2 separate regions of the Homo sapiens genome follow, and region 1 is linked to region 2. The links are contacts of gene promoters, found by promoter capture Hi-C in human tissues and cell types (Jung and others, 2019). All regions are on one chromosome and are shown on one strand. Each heading gives the region's core, a stretch centred on a gene start or on the middle of the fragment in contact. The rest is flanking DNA. Distances are from core to core; before and after follow the strand shown. Region 1 overlaps KCNT2 (potassium sodium-activated channel subfamily T member 2). Region 2 holds the start of KCNT2 (potassium sodium-activated channel subfamily T member 2).

Region 1 (5,807 bases), core at 521-3,020, 39 kb before region 2:
CAGTAAATCTCCATCTGCATTTACCACACATTAAAGTGTGTTATTTATGTCAACGGTCCCCAACCTTTTTGGCACCAGAGACTAGTTTCATGAAAGACAAATGGTGGTAGAGATGGTTTCGGGATGAAACTGTTCCACCCCAGATCATCAGGCATCAGATTCTCATAAGGAGCTCGCAACCTAGATCCCTTGTATGTGCAGTTCACATAGGGTTCGCCCTTCTATAAAAATCTAATGCCACATGGCCAGGACGGTGGCTCACATCTGTAATCCCAGCACTTTGGGAGGCCGAGGCGGGCGGATCACGAGATAAGGAGATCGAGCCCATCCTGGCTAACACGGTGAAACCCCGTCTCTACTAAACAAAATACAAAAAATTAGCCGGGTGTGGTGGCCGGCGCCTATAGTCCCAGCTACACGGAAGCCTGAGGCAGGAAAATGGAGTGAACCCGGGAAGCGGAGCTTGCAGTGAGCAGAGATCGCGCCACTGCACTCCAGCCTGGGCGACAGGGCTAGACTCCGTCTCAAAAAAAAAAAAAAAGAAAAGAAAAACACGCCACCACAGATCTGACAGGAGGCGGAGCTCAGGTGGTAATGCTCTTTTTCTGGCAACTCACCTCCTGCTGTGTGGCGCTGTTCCTAACAGGCCACAGACCAGTATTGGTCAGTGGTCCTGAGGCTGGGGACCCCTGGTTTATGTTAATAATGAGCTTTTTTTTTTTTTCTCTCCAGGTTCCAACATAATTGAAGCAAATAGTAAATACTGGTTGAATGCATGCCAGAAAGACACTATGCTTGGCACACAGAGAAAAAATTCATAGCTGTTGGTTCAAAGAACTCTGTACGGTAAAATCTATTGATGTGCTCTCTTGTGATAACTTTCTGTTCCTTTAAAGAAGCAATAATCCAGGACAATGGATGAGGCAGGAGTCACTCATCATTGCTGTGAGTGTGAATCATTGCTATTACAAATTTATTCCTAAAGGATTTCCATCCTTTTCTTGATATCTTAAATATCAATTTCTACTTTCTCCTACTTTTTCTAAGATTTTATTTTAATTTAGCCTCTTAATCTGTTGAAAAATTTTAAGTTAATTTGATTTTTATGTTGTTATATTTTTTAATTTATTTCTTTCAAGTTAATTGATTACTTCTAACTGCAAGTTCTAACTGCAAGTTAACTTCCTATCATTTCAGGATCATATTGTTTTAATAATTTCTAAATTTACTTTGAATAAAATATTTTTTAAAAAACACATTGTCTTTTTAAAATATGCCTTAATATTTGGCAGTGTCTGTTCCTATTTTTAAAAATGACCTCATATTCTCAACATTTATGTTTCAGATTAATTTGATAGTGTTATGTTGATTTTCAATAAAAAATATTTAACTTTTATTGGGATTGAAATAAAGCTGTGAATTTATCTGATATTTGGTCACAACATTAGGATAAAGCTATCATTTCATTTGTTTCAGTCTCTATTTGATATGTACCAGTTAAATTTTATAGATTTCTTCAGGATCATTTGGAACAACTTACTGCTATAGCTATTTATGGCAAAACAGTGCTGAGGGAGTTCAGACTTCTGGAGAGAGCTAAAAAAAACCCTCTGAATTCATTTTGTTAATGAAATTAATTCAAAAGGATAACAGGAAAGGCAGGGCTGAAGGAAGAGAATGGCAGCCCTCATACTGCAAGTCCCTATTCATACCTAAGCAACTGGGGTTTATGTTCGCCCAAATTGGCCAGATTGGAAAGAAAGCTAAAAGACTAAGATTACATATGCTGCTAGAAATTTCTATTAAAAATAAAGGCATGCTTTTGTTTTGATTATGAGGTAGATAAACAACTTCTAGGGGTGAAGAAAGGTGTAGAGATTGGGGGAAATTTTCAACCAAGTTAACCAAAGTCACTCAAGGGCTACAGGAAACTTCTGCTATGCTAAGAAGTTCTAACCAACAAAAAGCCTCCTGAGTCCAGGAAGCTTGAGCTAGAGTAAAAAAAAAAAAAAAAAAAAAAAAAAAAAAATTAAAGGCCTTTGAGTATGGAGGCTTTGTGTAATGATAGGCAAGGACATTTGAGACAACACTTCATTCCACTAAAAGCAACCAAAAACAGTAACAACAGCAAGAATAACCTGCTTTTTGGGTGAAATGCAGTAAGTATGAAATAATCCCAATTTGAGGAATTGTTGGAATTTGATATTCTTATTGTTTAATTTTTTTAAATTATGTGTTGGTAGATTTTCACAGTGCATTTGATTACATAATTTTAATTTTGCCTGAGTAAACCTGACTTTAAAACAATTGGAAAAAACTGTATCACAATATAAAGAAAAGAATCTGAAAATGTGCAAAGGAAGAGAGTTAGACATACTTGTGGGAACCTCATCCCAACACTTTCATATCACATATTGGTGTTATACTCTGACACAATACCAAGTAAACTGAAAAGCTTGAAACTATGAGTAGAGAATCCTACTCTAATCCTACTCAAAGTAGGATTCTCTAAACAAGAAATACTTTATACATGTTATAAACTGGCAGATGCAATGATACTCAAAGAGTCTACAGCAGATTAGGGTGCTATACAGAATATACAAGCCTTCATAAAAAGAACATAATGGGGATGCCTAGGATTCTCACTTCTTAGGTGAGTAACTACTGTCCTTTTCAGAAACAGCTAGATAGATTCTTACTTGCTACTGGATCTTGATGAAGATTAAAGGTCTGACCACAGAACACAGAGAGTTCATCTTAATAAACAATTAAAAAACAGTTGCCCATAACTAACTAGCTGCATCTGACCTATTCCACTAAAAAATCAAGTCTTTATTTCCTCTAACATAAGTGCCATTAAGGCACAAGTAAGTTACATGAACAGACAGCTCACTCTCCTGGCCTACTCCTACCACACTGTTCTAATATGTCCCATATGGCAGACTACCTATATTAGTTCATCTTCCCCTCCCCACTAAGAAGTAAGCCCCATAAAGGCAGAAATCTTTACTTATTTTGTATGACTTCAACACATTAAATAGTATCTCATAGTACCTGAGACATGCTCAACACATATTTGTTGAAATAATAGATGTTTTAAGAATAGATATTTTTGCAAAGATATGGATGGCATATTAGCATTAAACAGAAAATAGAGGAATAAGTTCAATTAGAAAAAAATGCTTAGGGGTCCATTTACAGTATCTGTTGGAAGAATTTAGGCAGCATGAGACAAGAACTGAAAAATTCCCCAAACTTTTCTGTGCCCAAGATATTCTAAAGGAGAAAGAATGAGAGAGGTAAGGCTATCTTCAGAAAACATCCCAGAATATAATAGCATTGAAATCCAACTGAAACAGAGAGCTGAAAGAAATGTGAGAATGAATATAAGAAGCCCTTTCATGTGCAATTTTTGATCTCCAAGGGACTGAAGTTAAGTTAGTTTGTCAATACAAGTCAAAATTGTTCTTAAAAGACATCTGGATTCCTGGTCATTAACCATATTGATTAGTTTACCTCTATTGTGGAACACTTGTCTATAAACAAGGTAATTGTGATCAACAGATCAATCATGCCCTAATGCATATCAAACTAGAGTCCAAATGGTACAAATTCAGGGGAAGATATAGGGCTTCTGAGATCTATGTTTCCAGAGATCCAGCAGATTCATTATTCCCCTAGACATGCAGAAATTCTTCCACAGAAAGGGTCAGCTCAGTAGAGAATGAGGTGTGTTCATGGAGAAGTGATGTGAGTTCTTGAGATTTCATGAAACAGAAATATCAGTTGTTTTATTTCAGCAGTAGAAATGGTATATATATTTGGTAATGTGCTTCCATTCTGAAAATATGACCTTGATTGTGCAGGTGTTAAAATCTGCTTAAAGGAGGTTTTAAAAGTAAGAAGCAGGACCTGAAAGGCAACCTCTCAATACCATGAAAGAAATGGTTCTATGTACACCTTTGTCCTCTTGTCTCACATAAGGCTCAGATTCTACTGAGAAATGCTCATGAGCACATGCTGTTCACCATTTCATCTCTTCCAAATGGTAGCAAACCTTGGCTATAAAATAAGAGAGTAAGGTAGTGACATATTCTGAGAATTCATCCAACCTTCTCACCAAAATTAAACCTTGCCAGTTCAAGTTTTGGATTCAATATGAAGATCCACTAGAGACCTGGAACTTCTCTCAGTATAGGGAAATCTCCACCTGGCATAAGATCCTCCAGCTCAAGAGTAGTAGCCTAAACTTGGGTAGTAGTAGATGTTGGTGTGATGACCTAGTCACTGTAAGTAGTGAGTGAGGATCTCGCTCAGCATCTAGGAAAGAAGGCAGACTTTGATAACAACACACAAAAAGGAAACTTAGATGTCTTAATCTTGGCTTTCTAGGAGATAAAGAGAGAGAGAGTGCAATGAAGTGAATCAGAGAAGGCTAAGGAAAAAGTATTCAAAAGAGAGAACTGCATACGTTTTGCCATTTTGTCAGCAATTCCTATTCACTATCACCACTTTGGGTGGGATTACTTGTAGGTCATCATTATCATGGAATGCAAAGGCTTTCTAAGGGTGATGGATACTATTATTGAAAAGTTGCTATATTTTATTGAGTACTATGATGCATTTAGATAGTAGGTTAATGTAGACTTTCAATAAAATCTGATGAAGAGGAGAACATTTACTGAGGAACTTTGTAGAATGAATTAACGCATAGGAACCAACAACAGAAGAGTTGCTGCAAAAGCTTTTATGGAGTAAGAATGTCTAACATATAATTTCCAGTTGTTTCTTGATGCATGATGACACTTACCTGCTTCTCAGAAAACTTTAATGAGTTCTACTCCATATACATGGAGAAGAAAATAGAAAGGGACTCTAGTGTCTCAGGTTTAAATAGATGCTAGGATAAAATAAGCTATTGTTAACCAAGGCAGGCCTTGTCTCTTCGGGATTTTAAAAAATTTGGATGGTTTTGAATTGGCACACAACAGATACTTGGCCATGTCTTTCCTAATGAGAGAGACAGAAAACATCTGCTTATCCTTCACAGAAATTTAGTGTATTATATTTAACTTCAAAGAATGGTCTTAACAATCTACACAGAAAAATATGAGAGTTATGGCTATTTTTAAGATTTAAGGATAAAATAAAAGCATACTAAAAAAGAGAGAATTGTGAGAGACACGTTTAAAATTCTGTGAAAGCACAAATATAACTCATAAAGATATTTGTGTGTGTGTGTGTTTATTCACTTCATGGCTTTCTTGATCTAAAATCAAGTGCACCTTCTGTGATGGGAATTTGCAGACACTGTTCTTTTGATATGCTTATTTATCCAGCACTACATTTAATTGCTGAATCATGTTTTTTTTTAAAGTTCATGATGGGAAGTCTTGATTTCTAATCACGCCAGGAGAAAATGATCTTAACAACTTTGATGAGCTACTCTGTAGAACTCAGTTAGATTGAAGATTTGTTACATGATCTTCATATTTTCTTTAAGCTGTTTTTCCAATATCCTTCAAAGTGTTTCAAACACTAAATAACTAATAAATAAAATATGAAAGAAGAGAAAGGAGGAAGAAAGAGACGGAAGGAGGAAGAGGAGGGAGAGAGAAAGAGGAGGGAAGGAAGGGAGCTGAATGAGCTACCTCAGAAAACTGGCTGAAATGTTCATGAGATTGAATAATTTTATTTTTCACAATATGCTTAATGGAAGAGATATAAAATGTTTTTTCCACATGGCAGTTATTTTATGTTTTTTTAACTTTATCTTGGTATGTTACTCTTGTTTACTTTCTCAGTCA
Region 2 (6,688 bases), core at 2,045-4,544:
GGAACACAATTCCCCCATCATTACAAGGATGTGGCTCTCTACATCCAGAAAACAGCTATCTTGATGCAGATTCTCCCAGAAGGTAAGCTTGAGATAGGATTGCAGCAAAAGCAGTTCATTTGGGAATTGATCACAGATAAAATACCAGTAGGGGAGAAGAGAGACAGAAGCCAATAAAGCTTTCAGTATTAAGCCAGTTATCACTGCGGGCAAGTGGAGCTCAGTCCCTTTGGACACAGTGTAGAACATGCTTCAGAATTCTCCAAGCTAAGGAGCAAGGAAGCAAAAGTATTGATTCAGAAACAGCCTATTTACTCAGTGACACTCCAGCTTGTTCTCCAAGCAGGACTTGGATGCACCTGAGGTTGGTGGTGGGGAGAAAACCTCATGCAGGAGGTGTTCAAAGAAAGTTGCTTTGAGAATATGGGCAGAGCACTAAATGTATCTGTTGTTGGAAATGATCTACCTACTCCTACATGAAAGAGGGCTTCCTCCTCAACTCTATAAGAATTGAGTCCAAGAAGATAACTGAGTAGAATGAGATTGCTATCCAGGCGTAATTGCAAAGAGGAATTTGTCACCATATTATAGACAAGGAAGATGACTTTACCTACCACATATTAGCTTAGGAGTCTGAAAAGGGAGAAAAAAAGGATTGCAAAGGGCAAATCAGAAGTGAAGAAGGGAACTAATATTTAATGAGCACCTAAACTATGCTAGGTGCTGTAAATTATTCTTATAAGTTCAAATAAATTAAGTGAAAAGAACTTAAGAATTTCTTGAGGGATTTGAATAATAATAAACTGAACTGAAGAGTTATCTTTACACTGATAAGATATAATATCCAAGACACGTATTTAATTTACCAAAATTTCAGTTTCCTTGTGCCTAACATAATTGCCTGCTATTCAGAGTTTGTCTGAGGATTAACTAAGAAAGAACATACCGCACAGTTAAAAGAACTTGGGAGTACTTATTTCCAACTAAATGTTAGTTCTGCGCCTCTCCATCCTTCCTCTTGTCACAGTTTTATAAGGTAGACAGTATAATTCCCATTATAAAAAATAATATTGCTGAATCTCATAATGGCTGAATGACTTTCCCAAGGCCACTCAGCTAGTGAAGGAAACAGCCAAGGACTGAATCTGGGTTTCTCTGATTCCAAGTATCTTGCCTTCAAAGATTAACAACAAATGGAACCAAAACCAAAGAATAGTTTTCCATGAAGCCACAAAAGTAGCCAAATCCTTAAAAATGGTTGAATGATTGTTTTAAATATTTAATAACTTATTTTAGTAGTAAATGTGGCCTGCTTTTTAAGTTAAAGTTGGGCTAGCATAACCTTTTAATAGAACATAAAATTTTAACCATTCTGCAAAACTTTTTTAATATGGCACTGATCCATTTAGGCAGTGTTCAACTAACCAAAATTCTTAATTACTAAAATATTTCTGCAGCATCCTTAGAAAAATGAGGGCAACCACATGAAAATTAACATATTGGATATGATATTTAAAACAAACAAACAACAATACCATCACTATAACCAAAGTATGTGCTTTATGTGTTTAATCTATCTCACACTTTCTACAAAGAGGATTTCTATTCTATATAATGATCCTGAGGTCCTGAACTAAATATACATTCAGTCACTAGGAACACCATGCTACACTTACTAAGCCATTTAACCAGGCTAATGCAGTTTATCTAAATGTCAATTTGTATTACAAATTCACTTAAAAATTATTTTCTTTATCTTCAGTTTACCCAAACACTTTACAAGAATACTGAGAAATTGGTATTACTTCTTTAAATTTTTAGCCAATATGTGTGGTTTTGCCTAAAAAAGAGATTGAACCAAAATATCCTCTACAAAACATCCATCTCCTTTCAAATTACTAATATGAGACCAAACAAGATGCCCATAATTGATGCTCAAGATAAAATCCTCAGTGTGTAGAGACAGGAGTTGGTATTGGGAGCTGAAAAGGTGAAGAAAAGAAATAGAGTGTATTGGTCAGTGGTGAATGAGGAGGGGATTTTGGATTGGACCAATAATGGATCTTTTATATAACTAAAATAGCACATCAATACTAAACTAAACTTCAATGAAACATTTCAATTGAGTTGAGAACCTAGTTAGTATACATGTATTATTTTAAAACAAAGAAATGTGGCATGTGATATATGGGATGACTATTCCAGAAAATACTAAATTCGCTGAAATACAAAATGTGCTTGAGACAGAAATAGACAGAGGAATTTCAGAAGTTTGTGCAAAGCAGTAATGCTATAAATAAAACACATGAACAATATTTTGCTAACAATAAATATTCTAGTTTTGAAACTTAATTTTAATTTTGAGACATATATTCTGTTTCAGTTAAAAAAATATACTAGTTATGAAAAGGTTGTATCATGTTATACAAACATCATTATTCATAATGGTCAGAGTCACCTGTTCAAAGTGAGTATATTGTATTAAAAAGGTTGTCATTTTCACTAACTACCTGTTACATATTTAAACCAATTGTCTACTTAAAACTCCAAAATGTTTAAACAGCATAAAATTTCCAGTGCCAAGTAGATACCTACTCAAGACAACACAGACAAGGAGGAGGTAAATAGACTCAGGAGATTTTAAGTTTCTAATGTGCTTTTTCAAACAACTTGCATGCAATTTTGAGTTTGATTAACCACACCTAAGGAAAAAATGCAAATTTTCTGGAAATGATATTGCATACCATTTGGGTGTATTGTACCTCTGATACCAGCCTTATACACATCCTAGAAAAGCACAGATAGACAAAAGAATAAGCACCAAATGAATGCAATAAATACCTTGCAAGAATAAGAAAAGTGTAAAGAAAAAGAGTTCCTTATCTATAGCAACAGTTATATAGAGTCAAAATGGAGAGACAAATCAGAGTCTCTTTTACTCCCTCCCCCAGCCTAGTCTCCCTCTCTGGCTCCGTTTTCCTTTTCTCCCTCCTTTCCCCACTTCGGCCCTCCCATTTCCGTCTCTTTTTCAGCAATATTTACAGAACAATCCTCCACCACACCACTCACCTGTCGTCGTTTTGCCATCCTTGGTCCCCTAGCAGCAAATCTCGAAACCTGTACCTGGGAGGCAGAGGGGGCACTTCGCTCTCCAAATCAACCATCCTTCCTCAAAGAGTGGGAAACATCAAACAACAAATGGAGGAGAGGAGGGAGAAAGAAAGAAAATATTGCGGAGTACAGGGAGAGGACTAACAAGACGCTGTGGCCGAGAGAGGGATGGGAGAAGGGGAAGGGGACAGGGAGGGGGAGGGGGTCCGCTTGGAGCCGGAAGCTAAGGCTTGAAAGGGGGCTGGCTCCTCTTTCCCGAGGGTGTAATGGGGATGATGCAAACCCAACCCAGGAGCAAAAGTCTGGCTCTGACAAGAATCAACGCTGCCAAGGAACCGCCCCCAGGCTCGGCACCGCCTCTGGTCCCCAGGACTAGGGGGAGGCGGGTATAAAAAGTTACTTCGCCGAAAAAGACGCGCGGTGCCTAGAAAGAGGGGAGAGGGGTGGGAGTGAGCGCCGCTTGATGGTGAAGCACTTTCCTTAAAGGCAGTTGCCAGATCCTCCCAGAGGGCAGCCTCCCGGCTACTGTTCCCTCGGGCGGGCTTGCATCCGGCACAGCCCTGAGCTGGCGGGAATCGGGGGCGGTGGGTTTCGGCCCCAGACGCGGCCAACCCGGCTCTCCCCGCAATCTCCCTGTGGAGATGGAGCTGGAGGCCCAGCCAATGAGACTCCCCCTCATTAGCATAGCACAGTGACGGCACGGGGGTGCCTTGGGGACAACCAATGGGGGCGAGCTAATTAGCGGATTGCGGGGCTCCAGACCCTTCTCTGGGAGGAGGGGGGCCAGGGTGCTTGGAGTGTTCCACTATGCCACGAGCTCCCTCGCTTTGATTGCCTTCAGTCCAGGTGGGCGGGATGAAAAAATTGCACGTTTCTGGAAAGGGAATCCCCACTCTCAGCCCCAGGAAAATCCCATTTTTTTCTCACATTCTGAAAGAAGGGAGGTGTTTCCCTGAACTCGGGGAAAAAGAAGGGCCACCTTAGGCCGCTGAAGAGAAGCATTTAGATGACAGGGAAAGCACATGGAAACGCACTGAGGATTTTACAGTGGTGAGTTGCTGTTACTGCTGTCGCTGCTACTAGCAGCGTTGTGGGCTTCCAGGTGGCCTGGCCTCAGCCTTCGGTCCCCTCCTATTAGTGGTTCACACGGAGGAAGAAGTGAGCCCGAGAGAACAGGGTCTGTTTTTCAGTAAGAACCACTGCTTACATGAACCCTGCTACACAAGCTATGGTTCTATTTGCGCTTACCGTTCTTTCCTTCAAAAACTGATTGCATCAGAGTATATACAGACCGAATACCAACCACCTGACAGCCTGGGCCGGAGGATAACCATATGGCTTCTCCTGCCCTTACTTAAGAACCGCTCTGTGTGGAGGAACAAGCTTGTTCCTTGATAAATGGATACGATGTGAGAGACAATAATCAAAGAACATACAGAGGGATTTGGAAATACCTGTGAGGTACACATACTTCTTCGAGGTGGGGGTCAAGGAAGACATTGAAAATGAACCAAGCCTTCTATATTCGTTCGCAGCCTACTTTAGGGAAAAGAGCAAAGGTGAAGCAAGCAGAGAGAATAGTATGAGTAGAGGCATAGGGATTTTTTAGAATATTTGGCTTATCCAGAAAATAGTGATTAATTTGGCATGATTAATGCTCAGTAGAGGTCATGTAGCAGAGGGTTTATTTAAGAAGCTAGAAATGAAGGAAGAAATTACCAAAACTTGTAACATCAAATGAAATACAATGACTACTGAAACCTGAAGAATAGCAGTTGAAATAAAAGTCATACTGTTTGTCTCTGTCTTCAAAATCCTACTCATCCTTCCAGACCCATCTCAAATTACATATCCTCCATTAGATTTCTTGGTTTTTCCAGCTTCTTATGATGTCTTCTTCCTTTGAACCCCTTTGTTTGAACCCTTCATAACCCATGTGAGTATTTTGCCTGGAATGCTTACTATAACCTGACCCGCTATACGATTATCTGTGCGTTTTTCTTTCAACTCTTCCCCTCTCCCTGTGGCTTAGCTGCCTCTAGCACGGGACCTTCAAAATAGCCACATTTCAACAAATAGGTGTGGAGTTGCATTAAAAGCTATTAAATCTAGGAAATTAAGCATGTTTTTTTCCATCCATGCTTGCACTCCTGTGGTATGTGTTTGTTTATGAAATCATAATTTAGCACGAACTTTTGTAATTACTTTGCTAAATAAGAAAGTAATATTGCTACATTATTAGTTTATACAGATAGAGATAGAGAGAGAGATCTGGTTTATATTTTAGACCTTATCATCTCCTATTAAAATGATTCTATTAATTTTATTTGTAATGTTCCAAGTTAATATTTATAGTTACAGTCTAACTGTATTATTTGGATGACAGAAAATCTGAAATATTTACATATCATTAACAGACTAAAAATCAAGACACTGAAAAAAGAAAAAAAATAGCAATCGATTGTTAGTCCTGGGATGCTGGAGGTTAGAGGGTAAAGTAACATTTTACTTAAAAGAAAGCTATGTGCCTCTATTTTACCTTTTGTGAAAATCTTAGTCATTTGGCTTCCAAATACTCAGATAAAAGTTTAGGAGAGAACAAATAGTACATTAAAAATAAATAAATAAGAAAAAACCTACTCAGCTAATACTGTGTGCCATTATGGATACAAACTATACAAAGTAATGTGCTCAGGGCAACCAATTGGAAACTACCACATTGATGATATTTTGATTCTCTGGTGTGTCTTGAAATTGTCCAAGTGAATTTTTTTTACTATAAACTTAAGAAAATTAGAAGAATAATGTATTATAGGAAATGCTATTGATATGGTTTGGCTCTGTGTTCCCACCCAAATCTCATCTTGAATTGTACTCCTATAATTCCCATGGGTTGCAGGAGGGACCCGGTGGGAGACAATTTGAATCAAGGCAGTAATATACGCCGTACTGTTCTCATGATAGTGAATAAGTCTCGTGGGATCTGATAGTTTTATCAAGGGTTGCCGCTTTTGCATGCTCCTCATTTTCTCTTGCCACCGCCATGTAAGAAGGACCTTTAGCCTCTCATCATGATTCTGAGGCCTCCTCAGCCATGTGGAACAACTGTAAGTCCAGTTAAACCTCTTTTTCTTCCCAGTCTCGGGCATGTCTTTATCAGCAGCGTGAAAATAGACAAATACAGTAAATTGGTACCAGTAGAGTGGGCATTGCTGAAAAGATACCCAAAAATATGGAAGCGACTTTGGAACTGGGTATCAGTCAGAGATTGGAACACTTTGGAGAGCTCAGAAAAAGAGAGGAAAATGTGGAAAAGTTTGGAATCTCCTAGAGACTTGTTAAATGGCTTTGACAGAATTGCTGATAATGACATGAACAATCAAGTCCAAGCTGAGGTGGTCTCAGATGGAGATGAGGAACTTGTTGGGAACTGGAGTAAAGGTGACTCTTGTTATGTTTTAGCAAAAAGACTGGCGGCATTTTGCCCCGCCCTAGAGATTTGTGGAACTATGAATTTGAGAGAGATGATTTTAGGGTATCTGGCAGAAGAAATTTCTAAGTAGCAAAGCATTTGAAA

Evidence for each region. The method cuts DNA at HindIII sites, captures the fragments that hold promoters and counts their contacts. A contact is called where the count stands out against the background at its distance.
Region 1: a contact is called between a fragment that was not itself captured here and the fragment with the promoter of KCNT2 in region 2, in 1 of the 25 tissues and cell types used here (adrenal gland).

The regions. Positions count from the first base shown.
Region 1 is chr1:196,568,070-196,573,876 of GRCh38, forward strand. All of the region lies in intron 1 of KCNT2 (potassium sodium-activated channel subfamily T member 2), which reads right to left. Among named protein-coding and RNA genes, the nearest start is that of MIR4735, 12 kb to the right of the region's middle. The HindIII fragment of the contact is 3,657 bases long and covers 1-3,599 here.
Region 2 is chr1:196,605,146-196,611,833 of GRCh38, forward strand. KCNT2 (potassium sodium-activated channel subfamily T member 2) reads right to left here and starts at 3,295. Exons shown (of 28, transcript NM_198503.5): 1 at 3,070-3,295. The coding sequence starts at 3,164. RefSeq lists an enhancer at 3,630-4,146. The HindIII fragment of the contact is 13,382 bases long and covers 1-6,688 here.